Linked DNA regions of Homo sapiens: all the other regions are linked to region 2. The links are contacts of gene promoters, found by promoter capture Hi-C in blood cells and fetal thymus (Javierre and others, 2016). All regions are on one chromosome and are shown on one strand. The core of a region is centred on a gene start or on the middle of the fragment in contact, and the rest is flanking DNA. Distances in the headings are between cores, read along the strand shown.

Region 1 (5,507 bases), core at 2,630-5,129, about 19 Mb before region 2:
GGCTATGCAAATGATGCAGGCCTTCTATGCTCCCTGGCTTGAGGGAAGCCCTCCTTGTCCTTGAGGTAACATGTGGGTCTCAGTCACTAGAACAGCCCTCAGCATCCCTGTCTTAGACTTGCATTTGCAGCAAAACAGAACCACTGGATGTTTAGGGGAAATGGGAGGGAAAGGACCACTGGTTCCCCTTTGCCTTGCAGCAGCTAAAGCTGGTTTCCTGGGGTTGGGTGAGGATCCCTTTGCCTCCCCCTCCTTCTCATTTTCTTGGTGGGCAGAGGGCAAGCAGGTGGGGACTTGTAACTTGGCATTCTAGGAACTGTGAGGCAAGCCTAGCCTCTCATGTTTGCTCTTTCCTCCCCCAGCTCTACCGTCGCAGGACTCTGCCCTTCCCCAAGAGAGGAACCAGAAGGAGGACCTATCAGCCCTTGAAATTCTAAAAGTCATGTCCCTTGTGAGTTTTTAAATCCCATAAATATTTGCTTTCCTTATCTTGAAACTTTCCACCTGGGTTCCATCCAGAAATTTGGTTCTCAGACTTTCCCATTTTAGGGAATAAAAGGACCAGGCAGGAGTCTCCTCTCCCATTGTCCTCTCCCCTCTGACAAATGCCCACAGATTTATTCTCTATAGCATTCTGCATCTCCTGATGGTTTTCGTCTGCTAGGAGGAGAAACTCATTTCCCTGTATGAAATGAGAGCATCCTTTGTAAGAACTGAAGTTTGAAGAGATGGAATGAATGCTTAGGAGCAATCACATATAGAAAAGCAGGGGAGGTGGTGTTGGTTGGTTTCAGTTTCAGCGCATGGTACAGTGTCCTGCTTTGGGAATGATTAATGATTGGATATGTAATTGAGGTTTGGCTGGGAATCCATCAAAAATTTGATGCCAGAATTAAAGTCTAGTTTGACGTTGGACAGAGCATTTGAATCTGGGACATCCTCCATTAGTTTCTTTAGCTTAAGAGGAAGAAAAGTACAGAGCTGAGGATGGTGAGCGATGTAGCAAGTGAGATGATCATCTAGGTGGGTGAGTGGTCAGGGCTTGGAAAAGCCTTAGAGATCTGATCCAACCTCGGGATCCAAAATAAGAGGATGTTTGAGTCAGTTGTTTCACTTGATAGAAAATTGTGCACTCAATAAAAGTTATCTCCATGGTTTTTCCCATGAAGAAAAATGCTTGTGTTATGTTCCAACATAATGATGAACTTTCATCTCCAAGAAATTCTTGACTTACATGAAAATCCTGTATCTAAGATAGAAAACATGTTTCCATAATTTTAAAAAATAAAATATTTGGGGAAAATCCATCAGAAATATTTTTTGTTGTTATTGTTATTCCAAAAGATAGAAGTGATAGGTCTCACCTTGAGAATTTATTGTATGCCAAGTATAGAGTGGGCAGTGTGCTTTATTACACTGTTTCTTAACAATAAGGAAAACTCCATTTAGCTTGATTTTAATTTTCATCCCAGACCTGTACACAGAGCATTGATTTGCAGTTAAAAGGAATGTTTGAGAACAATTTGATCATTCTGTTTTACTCATCCCCATTTCTTCTGTCACCTTTCACATTCAGTCCCACCCTTCTTGTTCAACAAAACAACCCCCCCTCCCGCAAAGACCTGCCCCATCTCCTTTCATCCCACTGTGAACCATTGAAATACATATATATCATACATGCCTGTCATTCCAGGGGTCAGAATTGTTCAGGGATGTGGCCATAGTCTTCTCCCAAGAAGAATGGCAGTGGTTGGCACCTGCTCAGAGGGATTTGTACAGAGACGTGATGTTGGAGACCTACAGCAACCTGGTCTCACTGGGTAAGGTGATCTCGTCTGTTAGTTTGGAGGTTATCCTTGGGCATGTTCCTTCCTGGTCAGTTTTTGGGTGCTTTTCAGTCTTATGATTGGTTGGTCATTTTTGAGGGGTTAAAGGGCGGCGCTGTCGGCTGAAGCTGCATCCCCCTACCCCCAGGCAACTGTCCCATCTTCCTCTGGCACTTCCTGCAACTGCCTCTCCTGCTTGATGACCAGGTCCTGGATCTGAATTCTGGGGCCCCCACACCATAACCAGGTGGCATGTTTCTTCTCATCTCCAGGTCTTGCCGTTTCCAAACCTGATGTGATCTCCTTCCTAGAGCAAGGCAAAGAGCCCTGGATGGTGGAGAGAGTGGTGTCTGGAGGCCTGTGTCCAGGTGAGTGAGGTATCATTGGGAAGGGAGCAGCCACTGCAGGTATCAGGTCCGCTGGAAGTGGCCCTTTGTCTTAGAAGATCTTCCCTGCAGGTTGCTACCTTCAAAGCTTATGTCTTACGTGTTGTTTTCCTCAGCTCGTCAGCAGCATTTGACAAAGGTGGCTGCTCCTTCCTCCTGAAACACTTTAAAAATTCAACCTGGATTATAGGGCTAGACTGAGTACAAATATGGTGGTTCCTAAGGAAAGTATTTTGTCTTTGGAAAGATGTCTGTATCTTTTGACCATTTTTCTTTTTTTATTAATTTTAATTTTAATATTTAAAATTTTTTTTAACTTCAGGAGTATAAGTGCAGGTTTGTTAAATAGGTAAACTTGTGTCATGGGGGTTTGTTTACAGATTATTTCATCACCCAGGTATTAAGCCTAGTACTCATTAGTTACTGTTCCTGATTCTCTCCCTCCGCCCAACCTTCCATTCTCTGAAAGGCCCATGTGTGTTGTCCCGCTCTGTGTGTCCATGTGTCCTCATTTAGCTCCCACTTATAAGTGAGAACATGCAGTATTTGGTTTTCCGTTCCTGTGTTAGTTTGCTTAGGATAATGGCTTCCAGCTCCATCCATGTCCCTGCAAAGGACATGATCTTGTCCTTTGACCATTTTTCTAAAGGAATTTGTATCGGTTTGTTTGAATTCTGGAGTCAGTTAACAAGTACTTATTAAGCTTTTATTATGCACCATGGAATATGCCACAGTATACATTGATGAGGCAGGTGGACATTATCCTTGCTTTCATGGAACTTACACTGCAGTGGGAAAATAGACATGAAATCATACACACTGGACATGAGCTAATATGTGAAAGAAAAAGAACAGGTTCAGTCAGGGTGCATGGTAGGGCCAATGGCCTCTTCAAGGATAAGGCATTTCAGCTGAGACATGGAAGGTGTGATGTAGCTGGGGAATACCAGTTGTAGCCAATGAGTGTGAAGGACCTGAGCAGGGAGCCCTTGGTACCTCTGAGATAATGGATGGCCCTTGTGGCTGAGGTCAGTGAGCAAAGGGAGGAACACAGAGATACACTAGGGGCCGGGCATGGTGGCTCATGCTTATAATCCCAGCACTTTGGGAGGCTGAGGCGGCCAAATCACTTGACCAGTCTGGCCAACATGGTGAAACCTCGTCCCGACTAAAATCACAAAAATTAGCCGGGTGTGGTGGCACGTGCCTATAATCCCAGCTACTTGGGAGGCTGAAGCAGGAGAATCGCTTGAACACGGGAGGCGGAGATTGCAGTGATCCGAGATCGAACCACTGCGCTCCAGCTGGGGCAACAGAGAGAGACTCTGTCTCAAAAAGAAAAAAAAAGATACGCTAGGAAAGGCAACCACGTTATGAAGTTTGGGTTCTGCACTGTGGGCAGAGGGAAAGCACTGTAGAAATAGAGGCAAGCCATGATTTTATGGTCCACCTGGAGAGGATATAAATATTGTGCTTCTCACAAATTATTCACCTGCTAGTTTCAGAAGTCATTGATAGTTTTCTCTTGGATCAGATATGATTAATAGTTACAAAATAGTGATTTTTAAAAAAACTTTATTCTTATTTATTAGATCACATACTCCTGTAAAGAAGAGCTTTCTCCCTTTCACCATTTGTTTCTTCATTTATATCATATGGATTAATAGTAGGTGGCATATTTTTTCTCATTTCCAGGTCAGAATAAAATAAATCTTGTTTTATCCTGTAACAGATTATTACCCATTATCATTATTTATCACAACGTTCATAGTTTTCCAGACTTGCCCAGTGACACCCTTTCAAACTGGCTCCTGGGTTCTTTGGACATAATCCCCCCCCCCTTTTTTTATAAGCACGTTTTTAACTTTTTTAGTTTCAACAATTCAGTAAAAGCTAGTTAACATAAATACAGAAGAAGTCCACACAATTGACATCCGTGTACATAAATGCAAGAATGCCAAACCTCACATGAACCAAAAAGTATCAGCTCTTACAATGTTGACTATTTAGCTATGACTAGTAGGTCATAAATCTTCGCATAAGCAAGGGTACACATTCAAATGTTTTTTAAAACTAAGAATAAAACAATTTTATGTTTCTAAAAGGAGAAGCATAAAAGTCAATCTGTCGAAGAACATAAGGATGTGATAGAAAAGAGATTTGCGTGGGCACAAAGTTAATACACTGTGTTAATACTTTTACATATTAAAATCCCTCTGCAGCCAGGCGTAATAACTCATGCCTGTAGTCCCAGCTACTCAGAAGGCTGACAGAGGAGAATCACCTGAGCCTAGGAGTTTGAGGTTGTAGTATAATATGATTGTGCCTCTGCACTCCAGCCTGGGCAACAGAATGAGACCCCATCTCCCCTGCAAAAAAGAAAGAGAAAGAGAAATACTTTGGAGGCAAACTTTATATAGAACGTTTGTATATAGTTTTTTTTTAAGTCATCAGTGTCATACTTAAACTAAAATGCAGATTGTGTTTTTGTCTCCAAACTGATTGTAATACTTTTGAGTCCAATCAAAACACCTCAGAAACATCCAGTTACTGTTGATTACAATAAATGTGACATGCTGACAGAATTTAAGAAGGTACAGTTTTTCACTGGTGAGAGCAGTAAAAGCTTGGTAATTTTCAATAATGTTGGGATCACTACAGTGAATAGATCTGCAGAACAACATATCTAAAACCCAGACAAATGTTAGGAATACTGGTTCTGTTGAATAAATGACCAATGTTTTTATAGAAATACGTAACATAGAATTCCCTCCTGCTCTTTCACCCTCAATAAATGCTATAAAGTGCATTCACAAAGAGCCATATTAAGATAAAGCTACTGCACAAAATACAGCACTCATATATACTGAAATGAGTAGTATCACACTGGAGTTTAATTGTGCACATTTTATATACCAGTATAGCAACATCCTTAGCCAGAAGTCTCAACAGAATTATCATGAACATAAACGTTTAAGGGTTATATACATATATCAATTTAAAGTATGAAAAGGTGCATTTGAACTTCATGGCAACATTTAAAAATGATATCCTTGTTAGCACATCACCTTGAATCTATGATGTATGATTCAGCAAATTAGGACAGAATCAAATTCTCAGCAAAAAGTACTTTGAGGCTGGGGATGGTGGCTCACGCCTGTAATCCCAGCACTTTGGGAGGCCAAGGCAGGCGGATTGCTTGAGCCCAGGAGTTTGAGACCAGCCTGGGCAATATGGCGAAACCCCATCTTTACAAAAAAGCACAAAAATTAGCTGAGCATGGTGGTGCCCACCT
Region 2 (5,070 bases), core at 1,512-4,011:
GCCCCTTACTCGCCACACTCCAGGCACATGTCTTCCTACTGTTACTCAAACACTGTACACCCCTTCTTCAGGGTTGTGGACTTTTCCTTCCGTCTGGAACCTTCTCCCAGACACCAGCATGGGCCACTCCTCTTTATTCCTATCTGCATTCAGGTGTCCCTTCATCAGAGGGACTTCCCTGAAAATTCTACCTCAAGGGAACCCCTGTTCCAGGTACTCCATTTTTCTTTACCCTGAATTATTTTTTTCTCAGCATTTATCACCACTGGACATGTTACATACTGCTTTGTTTCTTTATTGTTTCTCTTCCCATGCAAGATTGTAAGATCCAAGAGAACTAGGTTTTGTTTGGTTCACAGGTGTATTCTAATGACAGAACACCACCAGACCATTGTAGTCTCTCAAAAAATTAGATAAATGAATAAATAAATTTTACTGTGCCTTATGTAATATAAATATACAATGTTAACTCATGCTGTGTTGGGCAAGTAATTTTAATCTTCCTGTGCCTCACAATCAGACTAGGTCCGACATAATCCCGTGATCTCACATACACATAAAATTCTCACCCAATCACAAACATATACACATTTACACAATCGGTGGCATAATCTCTCTCTCTCACACACACAGCCGTATTAGCACAAAGATAGAGAGACTGTCACACATGGTTATCTCATTGTGTCATTATCTCATTTAATCCTCAGAACTACTACTGCTCCACAAAACTACAAAGATAGGTATTAATATCTCCACTTTACTGGTAGTAAAAGGGAGGTTCCAGAAGCTTAAACAACCAACTCAAAGTCCGGGGTCCAACTGAAATGTGACCTCAAAACCAGTCCTCTTTTGAGAGGCCACGATGTCTGAATGGGAAATATTCAACACAACCCGAGTAATCAATGCCATATATTCCTTAGAGAGGCATCTTTAGAGATGGCAGGTGTTACCTTTATTTCTCTACAGAAATGCAGCCTGAGGGAAACATCGCCAAATTTTAATACTAAAGCAACAACAAACTGGGCAATCTGAAGTAAGTTCCTTGTCCTCTTAGAGCCAACATTTCTTCATTGTAAAAATAGAGACAGGCTGGGCACAGTGGCTCACACCAGTAATCCCAGCACTTTGGGAGGTCAAGGTGGGCAAATCACTTGAGACTAGGAATTCAAGACCAGCCTGGGCAACATGGCAAAACCCCATCTCCTCAAAAAGTACAAGAATTAGTTGGGCGTGGTGGCATGTGTCTGTAGTCCCAGCTACTTGGGAGGCTGAGGTGGGAGGCTTGATTGAACCCAGGAGGTAGAGGGTGCTGTGAGCCGAGATTGCACCACTGCACTCTAGCCTACAGGACAGAGCAAGACTCTGTCTCAAAAAAAAAAAAAAAAAAAAAAAGAAAAGAAAAGAAAAGAAAAGAAAGGGACAACTGTGGTTGACCTAGAATTCAGTATACATCACCCCCTAATTTCACCCCCTAATTCTGGACTACTTTGCACTAGGCAACTCAGTCCCTAGCAGTTATTTCCTTAGTGTAGTGCAGCTTGAAATTGTCCATAAAAACTGCAGCAGGGCGCAGCGCCTCACGCCTGTAATCCCAGCACTGTGGGAGGCTCTGGTGGGCGGATCATGAGGTCAGGAGTTGGAGACCAGCCTGGCCAAACATGGTGAAACCTCGTCTCTACTAAAAATACAAAAACTAGCTGGGCGTGGTGGTGCGCGCCTGTAATCCCAGCTACTTGGGAGGCTGAGGCAGGAGAATCACTTGAACCTGGGAGGCGGAGGTTGCAGTGAGCCGAGATCGCATCATTGCACTCCAGCCTGGGCAATAGAGTGAGACTCCATCTCAAGAGAAAAAAAAAAAAAAAAGCGAGACCTCTAGAGCTAAACTGCTTGGGTTTGAGTTCTGGTGCTGTCACTTGTTAACTGTGTGAACTTGGGTAATTCTAATATTTCTGTGCTTCATACATCAATCCCACAATCTCATATATACACACAAATTCTCACCCAATCACAAATGTATAGAGTCACACAAACACACCCATAATCTCACACAATACACAGCCACATAAGCACAAAGATAGATGGTAACATACAACTACACCAACAGAGATAAACAATCACACACAATCACACACAAAGTAGCATACCACAGAAGTCACACATCTTGTCACAATTACTGATACAAAACTATACCTGCGGAGACAGATGGTCATAGTCGCACAATCACACTTGCTGTCACACACATTCAAACGCAATTGTATCCGCAGAAACAGGTGGTCACATAACCACACACATGCATTTACACAAACACACAATGTCACACCCCAGTCTCTCATAAACACATACACAGCTACACCTGCAGAGACAGTCACACACAAACACACATATTCACAGTTTCACCCCCAGACACAGATGGTTACAGTCACACACAAGCGGGCGCACGCGCACAAACACACACACACAGTGACACAAGATCACATTCTGTCACACCCGCAGCCTGTCACATAGTTGGTAATACAGTGAAACACACACGGCCTCCCCAGCGACTCCTGCCGGGTTCCCATCCCTGGCGCGGCCGGGCCACCCGGAGCCCGCCCTTGACTTCCCGCTCCCGCCCGGGGCCCGGCCCCACTCACCTCCCGGCGCCGCGGGCTCTGCAAACGGGCCCCGCGACCGAGACCCGCGACGTCACCTCCCAGAATCCTCCGCGAGGAGGAGCGAGGCGAGGACTGAGGCATGCAGGACTCTGAGCTCTGCGAGATCTGAACCAGCGACACCGCGTTCCCCATGGACCCCGCGAACCACGAGCCCCAGAACGCTTTGCGCCACGGCCGTCATCGTTGAACTACATCTCCCAGAGAACCCCGCGGCCCCCTCCACTGCGCGCCTGCGCCACGGGGGCAGGTACCGGAGAGGGCTGTGTGCGGTCGTAGGCTCTCCAGTGACCTTGAGCTGCTGTGTTGGGGAAAGCGGCCAGGCTGCGCGCGGGGCTGACTGGTTGAATGCTTGGGTGTGGTGGTTCGTGTGTGACTGTTGCTGCACACCTTTATGCTTGCCGACGAAAGGAGCGGCGGATTTTGTCAGTGCAGGGAGCTTCTGTATTTTAAATCACGTCCCGTGATTGTGGGTAGCTGAATGTGAAAGTGATTGTGGATGAAAGAGACTGTGGCTGACATTGGGGGTGACCGTTTCTGTTACTGTGAGGATACCACTGATCCGATGTGTATCTGACTGTCTCCTGGTCTTACTGTTCCTTCACCCCCATCTCCTGCCATGGGCGGGGTCTGTGGTATCTTTTATTGAGGCAATCTCGGCGCTCACTGCAACCTCCGCCTCCCGGGTTCAAGCGATTCTCTTGCCTCAGCCTCCTGAGGAGCTGGGATTACAGGCACCTGCCACCACGCCCAGCTAATTTTTGTATTTTTAGTAGGGATGGGGTTTCACCATGTTGGCCAGGATGGTCTTCATCTCCTGAACTTGTGATCCACCTGCCTCGGCCTCCCCAAGTGCTGGGGTTACAGGCATGAGCCATCGCACCCGGCCTATTTTATTATTATTATTATTTCTCAATTGGTCAAAATAATATATTTAACATTTTAATATTATTAAACATACAAAAGGCCACACTTTGGCCCTCCTCTAGTCAAGCAGTTTCCTTCCTGGTGAAAGTCCATAGGCAGAAACATGCCTGCAAAGATCTCACAACCTTCTTTCAGACCATGCTCTGGGTATCCAAATCCCCAGGATTTCCTGTTCAAATGGACTCCAGCCTGCTTCCAGAGCCTGTATCTCCTCTGTGTCCAAAGACCCTTCCCTTGATCTGTCTTCCAAAGGTGGAATGTGCTGCCTATCCACAAAATGTGGCCAAATGAGAGCAATTTGGTAAGGCTAGACAGAGCTTAGATATGCAAGCTGGAGTGTCCACATGTGGGAATAGAAGACCTCTTACGATGTGGGACAAGGATGGCAGTGGGAACAGAAGGGGACTGGCTGGGGACCTCCATCTGTACTGTTGACCCAGGTCTCTACATGTCAATGACAGGCTCATTTATGTATAAACTATTTTGGAGACCAATGGTCTTATGATGATGGTGGTTTGAATTAGGGTCATCACTGGAAGAGGCAATGAGAAATTGTCAGATTGGGATACAGTTTGAGTGTAGAACTAACAGAAGTTGCTGATGCTTGGTTGTGAATATAGGGAAAGAGAGAAGTTCAATATAATGCCTAAATGTCTTGAGCCCCTGGAAAAATGGTAGTGTTATTTACTAAGATAGGGGAAAATGAGTATGTGGCAGTTATCTAGGATGGGGTGGGTGGTGAGGTATCATGTTAAGTCGCAGATGCTTGTTGGATTTCAAAAGAGTGATATCAAGTAGGCATTTAGATATATGTGTGTGGAGCTCAGTGAAATGTTGGTACTAGAGATACGAATTTGGGAATTTCAATTAAGATGCTTTTAATAGGAAGTTATACAGTTATATGCTCAACTGAAAGTAGCTTATACAGTAAAGATATTTATTTCCCCACTTAGCAAGAAGTTCAGTTGGCTTAGCAGGTGACCAATTGTAGCAAGAATCCTTCCTCCTGCTCTGCAGTCCTCAATGTATTGGCAGTGTTGCTTTATGTGGTTGCAAGGTAGCTGCAGCAGCTCAGGTCCTCACACAATGTCTTCATTCTGTGTCTAGTTCCAGAATGAAATACTTTTGTTTTTCATTCTTTCGGGTCTCTTTTTTTTTTTTTTTTTTTTTTTTGAGACAGAGTCTTGCTTGCTCTGTTGCCCAGGCTGGAGTGCAGTGGTGCAATCTCGGCTCACCGCAACCTCCACCTCCCGGGTTCAAGTGACTCTCCTGCCTCAGCCCCCGAGTAGCTGGGGTTACAGGTGTGCGCCACCATGCCCGGCTAATTTTTGTATTTTTAGTAGAGACGAGGTTTTGTCATGTTGGCCAGACTGGTCTCGAACTCCTGACCCCAAGTGATCCGCCCGCCTCAGCCTCCCAAAGGGCTGGGATTACAAGCATGAGCCACTGTGCCTGGCCCCCAAACATTATCTGACCACACTTAGATAACCAC
Region 3 (5,098 bases), core at 504-3,003, about 20 Mb before region 2:
AGAAAGAAAACATGGCATATATACACAATGGAATACTACTCAGCCATGAAAAATAAACCTGTCATTCACAGCAACATGAATGAGCTTGAAAGACATTAAGTGAAATAAGCTAGACACAGAAAGAGAAATACTCCATGTTTCTACTCATATGCAAGCATAAAAGGTTGAGAATGGTGGTAACCAGAGGCTGGGAAGGACAGCAGAGAGGCAGATAGAGATTGGTTAACAAATACAAAATTACAGCAAGTAAGATTCCATTTGAATAAGTTGTAGTGTTCTGTGGCACTGCAGAATGAGTACAATTGGCAATAATACATTTTATATTTTCAAATAGCTAGAAAAGCAGACTGTGAATGTTTCTAAACACAAAGAAATGATAAATGATTGAGATGGATATGCTAATTACCCTGATTTGATCATTACTCTTAGCACACATGTATTGAAATATCACACCAAACCCCATAAACATTGTCAATTAAAAACAATAAAAGAAACAAAAAGAATACCAAAAGAGAAATTCCAAAATATTCTGATTAAACATATTAATTACTACGACTGGACTCAATCCATGGTGACAACTACCTGCATATACATATGCAGGTTCACCTGTTAAAATTCCAGTCACTTTATGTATAGTCAGCCTTCACACAATCTTCTGTAAGACTGAAAAATGAGATTCCTTCTCTGTGTTTATTTTCTGAGTTTATCATAATCTTTTAACTTACTTTAGCTACATGTCTTATTTCATTTTTGGTTCCAAATTGACCTCTAGAAAATTGTTGAGGTGAATTTTGAACTATTTACTCTCTCTAAAGAGCAGTAAAAAAGCTGAGAAACCACAATCAGAGGGAAGAATTAGGACTCCCTGGATTACATTATGTACAAACAGCTACAATATCATCTCCATCCTACAGAAAAATAAAGAAGAAATTGACAAGTAGATCCAGATCAAGAAAAAAGTATGGTACTGGGTGGTTAAAGACACACGGAGAAACAATTTTTTTAAAAAAGTCAAAGCGTCTGAAGTGTGCAGTAAAATGTGCCCATTCATATGTACATCCTTTATCTCCTTAAATGTAAAAGTATTTCATAACTCAAGCCTCCATCTTTCTCATAAAGATATATGCTTCTGCTCCTCAAGAGTGGAGACAATGCTGTGGAACAAAGCAGGCTTTCACAAAATGTTTTCAAACAAACCGTTTGTCTACAGCACTGGACAGCAGTGAATGTATACACAGGGAAAATAAAGGGGATGAGGCCCTTTTGTTTCTGAAACATTTCCCTCTCCCAAATAAAATAAGGAGGGGATGACAAATTGCCATGGGCTTGTCAGGGAAGTCTGAAAGAAGCTGTGCTTCCATTTCTTTCTCTTCCCTATGACTCCTCCTCCTTTGTTTGAATGTCCCTGAGATAACATTTCACTGTAAACTAATAAGAAAGATGTGGCTGAAGGTTTTCCTAAGTGCACAGTAACCACTGGGTCTCTTTCATGGGTGAATTATCAGATGTAGAATAAGACTCTTGGCTGTGTCAATTTCTAACATAATTGTTTAGATGACAAATGATGATCTAAAACAGGTTTTCCCACAGAGATGATACTTATGGAGTTTCTCTTCAGTATGAATGACCAGATGGTAAGATGTTTCCTCTCACCACAGATTTTCTTCAGTGGTTATATTAAAAAACTATTTCGCTAATAGGAATTCTTGGATGTTGACTGAAGTGTACGTAAAAAGTCTTTCCACATCTGTTACAATGGTAGGGTTTCTTCCACTATGAATCCGTTGATGTCGAGTGAGGAGGAATGAGCGGCAATTGAAGGCGTTTCCATATTCACTGCACTCACTGGGCTACTCTCAGTGTGGATGATGGAGTGTTGAATGAGATCTGTGCTCTCACAAGAAACGTTCCCACTCTGGATGGGTTCGTGGGACTTCTCTGCAGTGTGAATCCGCTGGTGCCTTGTGAGGGGTGACCTGCGGTTGAAGGCCTTCCCGCACTCCACGCATTCATAGGGCTTCTCTCCAGTGTGGATGCTAAAGTGTCGAATCAGGTTTGTGGTCCGACAAAAGGCTTTCCCACATTGGATGCATACATACGGCTTCTCTCCAGTATGAATCCACTGGTGCCTTGTGAGCCCTGACATGCGGGTAAAAGCCTTTCCACACTGTAAACACTCATAGGGCTTCTCTCCAGTGTGGATGTTGAAGTGTCGAATGAGGTCTTTTCGAATGCTAAAGGCTTTCCCACATTCTTTGCACTCAAAAGGCTTTTCTCCAGTGTGGGCTCTTTCATGCAGGACATAGGTGGAATAGTGAGTGAAGGCCTTTCCACATTGACTGCACACAAAGGGCTTCTCACCAGTGTGAATCCGCTCATGCTGCTTGAGGTGTGACCTGCAGTTGAAGGCCTTCCCACACTCAAGGCACTTAAAGGGCCTCTCCCCAGTATGGATAATGAAGTGTTGAATGAGGGCTGTACTCTCATAAAAGCCTTTTCCACATTCGCTGCATGCGAAGGGTTTCTTCTCATTGTGGCTCTTGTTATGCAAGACAAAATTGGAGCGGTAGGTAAAGGCCTTTCCACATTCATTGCACACAAAAGGCTTCTCTCCACTGTGAACCCGCTGGTGCCGTGTAAGGTGCGACCCGCGATTGAAGGTCCTTCCACATTCACTGCACACAAAGGGCTTATCTCCATTGTGAGTCCGCTGGTGCCGTGTGAGGTGTGACCTGCGGTTGAAGTCTTTCCCACACTCCAGGCATTTATAGGGCTTCTCCCCAGTATGGATGATGTGATGCTGAAGGAGGTGTTTGCTCTTGCCGAAGGCTTTCCCACATTCTGGGCAATCATAGGGCTTCACACGAGGGAGAATCTGCTCATGCTGAACAAGGAAGCAATTCTCATTAAACATTTCCTCGAATTTATAGGAATTTTCCCCTTCATGAATCAAGGAATCTGTAACTGGTCCATATGAGTCAAATCCATAGAGAGCATCTTCTGGTGAGACTTGGTTCTGTATCATCATTGAACAAATACCATCAGCTGTCGCCAAACCTTCGTGTTCAAGGCTCATTTTCCCATGGAGTTTCTCACTCTGTGGGTCTGTCCCTGGTCTCAAAAAGTATTCCTGCATTTCAGATGGCCCATCTTGATCCATGGCCTGCCCCAAATAGGAGTATCTTGGGACTCCCTGTGCCAGCTGTTCCTGGAGTGAGACTTCCTCAGGCAAGGCCAGATGAGAAGGGATAGGCTCTACGGTCTCAGGTTTTGTGCTGTCACCTGAAGGGAACACAATACACAAAAGAACTTATTAAGATAGTACAGAAGAAATGAAACCACCTTTTTGGTGAGAACAATAAGATGAAAATAGTGATGATTTGAAAATAGCTATGATTTGATGGGCTGGGTACAGTGGCTCATCCCTGTAATCCCAGCACTTTGGGAGGCCAAGGCAGGCGGATCACTTGAGGTCAGGAGTTTGAGACCAGCCTGGCCAACATGGTGAAACCCCATATCTACTAAAAATACAAAAATTAGCCAGGCATGGTGGCGGGCGGCTATAATCCCAGCGACTGGGGAGGCTGAGACAGGAGAATCGCTTGAACCTGGGAGGTGGAGGCTGCAGTGAGTCAAGACTGAGCCACCGCACTCCAGCCTAGGTGACAGAGGGAAACCCATCTCAAAAAAAGGCCAGGCATGGTGGCTCATGCCTGTAATCCCAGCACTTTGGTTTGGGAGGCTGAGGCGGATCACCCGGGATCTGCCCACCTCAGCTTCCAAGGTAGCTGGACTACAGGCATATGCTACCACGCTTGGCTTTTTTTTGTTTATTTTTTTTTAGATGGAATTTCACTCTGTTGCCTAGGCTGGAGTGCAGTGGCATGATCTCAGCTCACTGCAACTTCTGCCTCCTGGGTTCAAGCAATTCTCCTGAATCAGCCTCCCAAGTGGCTGGGATTACAGGTGTGCGCCACCATGCTGGGCTAATTTTTTTGTATTTTTACAGATGAGGTCTCACCATGTTGGCCAGACTGGTCTAGAACCCCTGAACTCAGGTGATCTGCCTGCCTCGGCCTTCCAAAATGCTAGAATTACAGGTGTGAGCCACCCCGCCTGGCTAAATTTTTTGTATTTTTAAAATAGAGATGGGGTTTCACCATGTTGCCCAAGCTGGTCTCGAACTCCTGGGCTCAAGTAATCCGCCCACCTCTGCCTCCAAAGTGCTGGGATTACAGGCGTGACCCACCGTGCCTGGCCAACTCTTGAAATTTTTAAAGAGAAACCCAGAGGGAGAAGCTCAAGCAGAGTACAGATGGTCTGGAATAGAGATCCCCACTCACAGTCAAGATGAGACTAGGTGGACATCATAATGATGACACTCTATCATAAGCTTGCTCAAGAACATGTCAAGGAGCTACAAGAGGCCAGGGAAGGGGCACTTAATGTAGCCTAGAAGGGGCAGGGACAGGAAGAGGTCAAGGAGGCTTCCCAGAGAGGATGCTTCATGAGCTTAAAGTTAGAAGGACATATTAGCCTTAGGACATAGAATATACAAAGACACAGAGTCTTCAGCGAATCCAGAGGACTGCAGTGAGAGGAGGCAGCCCCATAAGAAGTTAAGGTTGATCAGGATTCAGAGACAGGAAGGGGCGGAGACGAAGCTGATGCTCAAGATTCTGCCTGAGGGACAGCTAGTGATGGCCACAGCTACTCTTAGGACAGAGCTCCTAGGACAGAGGGTGAACAGAATCCTGGTAGACATATAGAATCCACTGTCAAGGTGAAAGGTAGGCGAAAAGGCTAACAAACAACTGGATCTTGAAAAAGAAAATAATAAAACTTTATTTCAAGACAATAAAGATCTAACTGAATGAAGAAATTGATAATATAAAATTATCAATTCTCTAAAAACTGATCCAGAAATTCAATACAACCCTGAGAAACAATAACCTGAAAATACTAGAAAAAGACACAATCTGAAAGGTACTGCCTGTAATCCTGGCTACTCGGGAAGCTGAGCCCAGGAGTTCGAGACCAGCCTGGGCAACATAGCCAGATCCATCTCTTAAAAAAAAAAAAAAAGTAATAATAATAA
Region 4 (5,208 bases), core at 2,024-4,523, about 20 Mb before region 2:
AGCAAAGACATGAATCAACCTAGATGCCCATCAACAGTGAAATGAATAAAGAAAGTGGTATGTATACACCATGGATTACTATGCAACCATAAAAAACATCATGTCCTTTGCAGCAGCATGGATGGAGCTGGAGGCTATTATCAGAAATGAATTAATGCAGGAACAGAAAACCAAATGCTGCATCTTCTCACTTATAAGTGGGAGGTAAACAATGAGAACACATAAACACAAAGATGGGAAAAATAGCTACCAGGGCCTACTTGATGGGAGAGTGTGGGAGAAGGGTAAGGGAAACACAAAAAACAAAAAAACTTTCTGTTGGGTGCTATGCTCACTACCTGGGTGACAAAATCATTTGTACATCAAACCCCAGTGATATGCAATTTACCCCTGTAACAAGCCTGCACATGGACCCCCTGAGCTTAAAATAAAAGTTGAAAATAAACCCACAAAACAAGGGAAAAAAGGTGAAAAATGAGAAATTGTCTATTGGGTACAATGTGAACTATTTGGGTGACAGTCACACTAAAAGCCCAGACTTCACCAATACATAATATATCCCTATAACAAAACTGCACTTGTACCCCCCAAATCTAAAAAGAAACAGTTTACTGAAAGACAGATAAAAAATAAACACATACCATATGATTACATTTATATAAAATTTCAGAAAATACTAACTAATGTATAGTGTCATTAAACAAATCAATGGTCACATGGGGATAAAGTATTGGAGAATAAGAGGAGATTAGTAAGGGGCATGAGGAAACTTTTGACATGTGTATACATGTCGAAATTTATCAAATTATACAATTTCAATATGTCTAGTTTATTGTATGCCAATTATATATCATTGATGTGTTAAGAAAAAAAAGTTTCCACATAAAAATCTGAATCAATCAATCCTGTATTTATTCAACTCTCTCCCTCTTCCCATATCTTGAGTCAGCCCTCCTTCAGTGGCAGCAAAAACTAGAAAGCAATGAAGGCCATCACTTCCCACATGCTGACTGGGTCACAAAAGATGCACGATCGACTCCAAGCTCTCTTTTGTCAGTCCTGGGGTTCCTGCCTGTTCAGTGATGACCAAAATGTCAACAGCCCAGGGAGGTACAGGAATTCACAAACTTTCAGATTGTTTGCTCTCACACCGGCCTCAGCCATAGGAGAAAAGGAGCTCAGCCGGTCGTGAGAATTTTTGTACACCCTCATCGCAGAGTCATAGTTACATTAAATTTGTGTATCCCCCTTTAGAGTACACACATAACTTCTAGTTTCCCAGTCTCCACTACTCCCTACTATCCAATGTTTCTGTATGTAGTGTTTCTGTATCTGTTTCCTGCTTAGCCCCTGTAGGTCTTACATGCCTACCAGATTTTAGATTTCAGGGGCAATGTCCTCTGCATAGAGGTCCTAGGAGACAGCCACCCCTCAACAGAATTGATGGAATATGACACATCCTCTGGGAAAAAGGGACTCAACTTATGCTGTTTCTAGAAGCACTGGAGGTTGTCACACCAACTACTCCCTCATGAGGGTGAGCTTAGGGCTCACAGAGATCCTGACATCCAGGTCACAAGATCAGTCTCACAATGCCCTACAGTTTTCCCTAAGAGACGTTGCGTAGCATTGCAAAACAGGCCAAACTAGACTTAGAGCTACTCTCTACCATCCTGCTGTCCACTCTGAGGCACATAAAGTTGGTGGTCCCTGCTAGCAAAGCCCTTCTTTTCTCAATCAGTCCCACACAATGAACAGAACAGATTGAAGGGTTAAACACTATGGCATTTATCTCTGCACAAATGAGAACATCATGAGGTGGGCATATCTAAGGTTGGTGGATTGGGAAGCTGGTTGGAGAAATCCATCTCAGCTACCATGTGGGGTCAACACTGTTTATTAAGGATGGGGACCTCTTGAAATCCACAGCAGGCCCCAGCTCAGATCTTTTAGGCTGCAGCTGGATAATATCCACGCTGAAACCACTAAGGGGAAATAGATGAGGACCCCATTTGTTTCTGATCACTCATGCAGTTGTAGGTAATCTCCACAGTGTGAATACACATATGTCTGAGGTTCAAATCCTGGCTTAGAGCTCCCTCTCAAAGGTTACTCTCAGAGATTTTCTCTTAGGATCATGCCATGTTAAACAATGAGCACATTCCATGAACTCTTAAGGCCTCTCTCCAGTGTAAATTTTCTGATGCCTAATGAGGTTAGGCCTTCACTGTATGCTTTCTTATATCTGCTACAAAAGGCCTTTCTCTGGTTGACTTTCATTTGCCAAGCAATGTGGGAATTTCTGCTTTCCCACATTTCCTGAACACACAAGATCTTGTTCCATTGTGAATTCTCTAACATGTTACAAGATAGTCCATTACTCCATTCTCACACTGCTATAAAGACATACCTGAGTCTGGGTAATTTATAAAGGAAAGAGGTTTAATTGACTTACAGTTCTGCATAGCTCGGGAGGCCTCAGGAAACTTAAAATCATGGCAGAAGGCAAGAGAGAAGCAAAGACACGTCTTACGTGGAGGCAGGTGAGAGAGAGCGAACGAGCGAACAGGAAAGAGCCCCTTATAAAACCATCAGATTGAGGGCTGGGCTCGGTGGCTCATGCCTGTAATGCTAGCACTTTGGGAGGCTGAGATGGGTGGATCACCTGAGGTCAAGAGTTCGAGACCAGCCTGGCCAACATGGCGAAACCCCGTCTCTACTAAAAATTCAAAAATTAGCTGAGCCTGGTGGCGCACACCTGTAGTCCCAGCTACTTGGGAGGCTGAGGCAGGAGAGTCACTTGAACTCAGGAGGCGGAGGTTGCAGTGAGCCAAGATCATGCCACTGCACTCCAGCCTGGCCAACAGAGCAAGATTCCGTTTCAAACAAACAAACAAAAAACCCCTTAGATCTTGTGAGAACTCACTATAGGAGAAGAGCATGGGGGAAACTGCCCCCATGATCTAATCACCACCCACCAGGTCCTACCCTGGTCACTGGGGATTATGGGGATTACAATTCAAGATGAGATTTGGGTGGGGACACAAAGCCTAACCACGGTAAGAATTGTGGCTTTAGAATGTCTCACGTTCACCACACTGAGAAGATATTTTTCCATTGTGGACTTTCTGGTACTCAACAAATGTGTCTTTATAAAGAATTTGCCACATGATCTGCACTCATAAGGTCTTCTCCACTATGAATTCTCTGGTGCTAAACAGGATGAGGTCTAGTGATAGAGGCTTTCTCACATTCAGCACTTTTTTTTTTTTTCTTTGAGACAGAGTCTCGCTCTGTTGCCCAGGCTGGAGAGCAGTGGCGTGATCTCGGCTCACTGCAACCTCTGCCTCCCAGGTTCAAGCAATTCTCCTGCCTCAGCCTCCCGAGTAGGTGGGACTAAAGGCGCGCACCACCACGCCCAGCTAATTTTTGTATTTTTTTACTAGAGACGGGGTTTCACTATGTTGGCCAGGCTGGTCTCGAACTCCTGACCTTGCGGTCCGCCTGCCTCAGCCTCCCAAAGTGCTGGGATTACAGGTGTGAACCACCATGCCTGGCCAACACACTCTTAAAGCCTTGATCCTGTGTGAACTATTTGGTGTATATGGAGATTAGAGCTGGAGCCAAATAATTTCCCATAATCACTGCACTCATAAGGCACAGCTTTGCTGTGAATTCTCTTGGGTAACTATAGAATAGTAGCTGTTATTAAAGGTATGCCAGCACTGACTGCACTCATAAGGGTTTACTCCAGCATGGATTTTCTGATACTGAAAAAGTATGTATTTGCAGCAAAAGGCTTTCCCACAATTGCTGTACTTGGAATCCCTTTGTCCAGTGTGAAAAGCCTCCCCACTCTCATTGCTCCTGTGTGGCTCTTCCCCATTGAAAGAGGCCTGATGCTGCACAAGTTGAGAGCTGACCAAGAGGTATTTCCCACCCTCCTTGCAAGTGAAGACCTTCTGTGACATGTGGGTAAGCATCTAACCAGTTCATGGCACAATCCATCCATTTGTTCACCAGATATATAATTTATTATGTTGCTTATGCATTGTACACTGTAACTCCATTATTCCAGCAACTCAAAACCCCATCCAATCACTTGGTTCATCTCACTGTTACAATCTCTAGGGTGTGTTGTCCTTTGCATCAGATTCGAATACTGTTCCTATAGCACAGGAAAACTATAAACACAATATATAATTGTATCCATTCACATCCAGTATACAGGAGGCCAGGGACACAGTGGAATGACATGGTCAAATTGCTGAAGAAATAACTACCAACCCAGATTTCTATCCACAACAATAGTATTTTTCAGGAAGAGCACAATATAAGATTATATCTGGTCAAAAATTGGAAATTTAGTAGAAAAGTAACCCTAAAAGTTATCCTTAAGGCCAAAGGAAAGTGATTACAGGTGAAAGTTCTGCAGTGGTAGAAGGAATGAGAATCCAAGAGATGGATGCATCTGCAGATCAATACAATTACTTATTATCTCTATACAACATGAACAATATCTTCTAATTGAGCAGAATAATAGATATGCTATACTCCAATACCAACACTCAATGACATCCTTTGATGTGTTCAAGAGAAGGGTAAAGGTATTAACAATTCTATAATAGGTTAGAGAAGTGTTACAATTCTTATCTTAGACTAATGAATAAAATGAGTATATACATTTCAAACTAAAAGAAAATTAAGATTATTAAAACCTATATATTTTTAAAAGAAAGCACAAAAAACAGCCTAGAAGAAAACCACAAAATAAGATGCATTTAAAACCAAATATATTAGCTATCACATGAATTGAATACAGAATGCGTGAATAGTAATTTCTAATGGATTAAAATAATCCAGTAGTAGTTCATAAATTACACATCTAAGATATAATGTCATAGAAATATATGAAATAGAAGAATGAAATATGTATACTTATAATTACTAAACACAAACACACAAAAATGTGTATTTGCATCTGACAAGTAGGAATAAGGAAGAAAACACCAGTAAAATATACTTTACAGTTTATACACTTTTAAAAATTTTAATATTACTTTTTATAAAGATGAGAGTTTCACTATGTTGCCCAGGCTGATCTCAAATTCCTGGCCTCTGGCAATCCTCCTGCATAGGACTTCCAAAATGCTGGGATTATAGGAGTGAGCCACTGCACCCGGCCTGTATACAATTTTTACCATCAAT

The links. The method cuts DNA at HindIII sites, captures the fragments that hold promoters and counts their contacts. A CHiCAGO score of 5 or more calls a contact.
Region 1: a fragment that was not itself captured here is called in contact with the fragment with the promoter of ZNF527 in region 2 in 5 of 17 cell types (non-activated CD4 T cells, total CD8 T cells, activated CD4 T cells and 2 more); the score reaches 14.6 in non-activated CD4 T cells.
Region 3: a fragment that was not itself captured here is called in contact with the fragment with the promoter of ZNF527 in region 2 in 1 of 17 cell types (neutrophils); the score reaches 6.5 in neutrophils.
Region 4: a contact is called between a fragment that was not itself captured here and the fragment with the promoter of ZNF527 in region 2, in 1 of 17 cell types (total CD4 T cells). The highest score is 7.6, in total CD4 T cells.

The regions. Positions count from the first base shown.
Region 1 is chr19:56,386,688-56,392,194 of GRCh38, reverse strand. It overlaps ZNF582 (zinc finger protein 582), which reads left to right. Exons shown (of 5, transcript NM_001320371.4): 2 at 363-451; 3 at 1,694-1,820; 4 at 2,099-2,194. The coding sequence starts at 443. It also overlaps the pseudogene SLC25A36P1. Among named protein-coding and RNA genes, the nearest start is that of ZNF582, 4.1 kb to the left of the region's middle. The HindIII fragment of the contact is 1,923 bases long and covers 2,918-4,840 here.
Region 2 is chr19:37,368,790-37,373,859 of GRCh38, reverse strand. ZNF527 (zinc finger protein 527) reads right to left here and starts at 2,761. Exons shown (of 5, transcript NM_032453.2): 1 at 2,634-2,761. RefSeq lists a silencer at 2,362-2,671 and enhancers at 2,702-3,011, 3,182-3,231, 3,252-3,391. The HindIII fragment of the contact is 7,295 bases long and covers 790-5,070 here.
Region 3 is chr19:57,288,883-57,293,980 of GRCh38, reverse strand. ZNF460 (zinc finger protein 460) reads right to left here. Exons shown (of 3, transcript NM_006635.4): 3 at 1-3,282. The coding sequence ends at 1,751. Among named protein-coding and RNA genes, the nearest start is that of ZNF460, 11 kb to the right of the region's middle. The HindIII fragment of the contact is 5,284 bases long and covers 1-4,395 here.
Region 4 is chr19:57,307,362-57,312,569 of GRCh38, reverse strand. No RefSeq gene overlaps it. Among named protein-coding and RNA genes, the nearest start is that of ZNF543, 11 kb to the left of the region's middle. The HindIII fragment of the contact is 9,398 bases long and covers 1-5,208 here.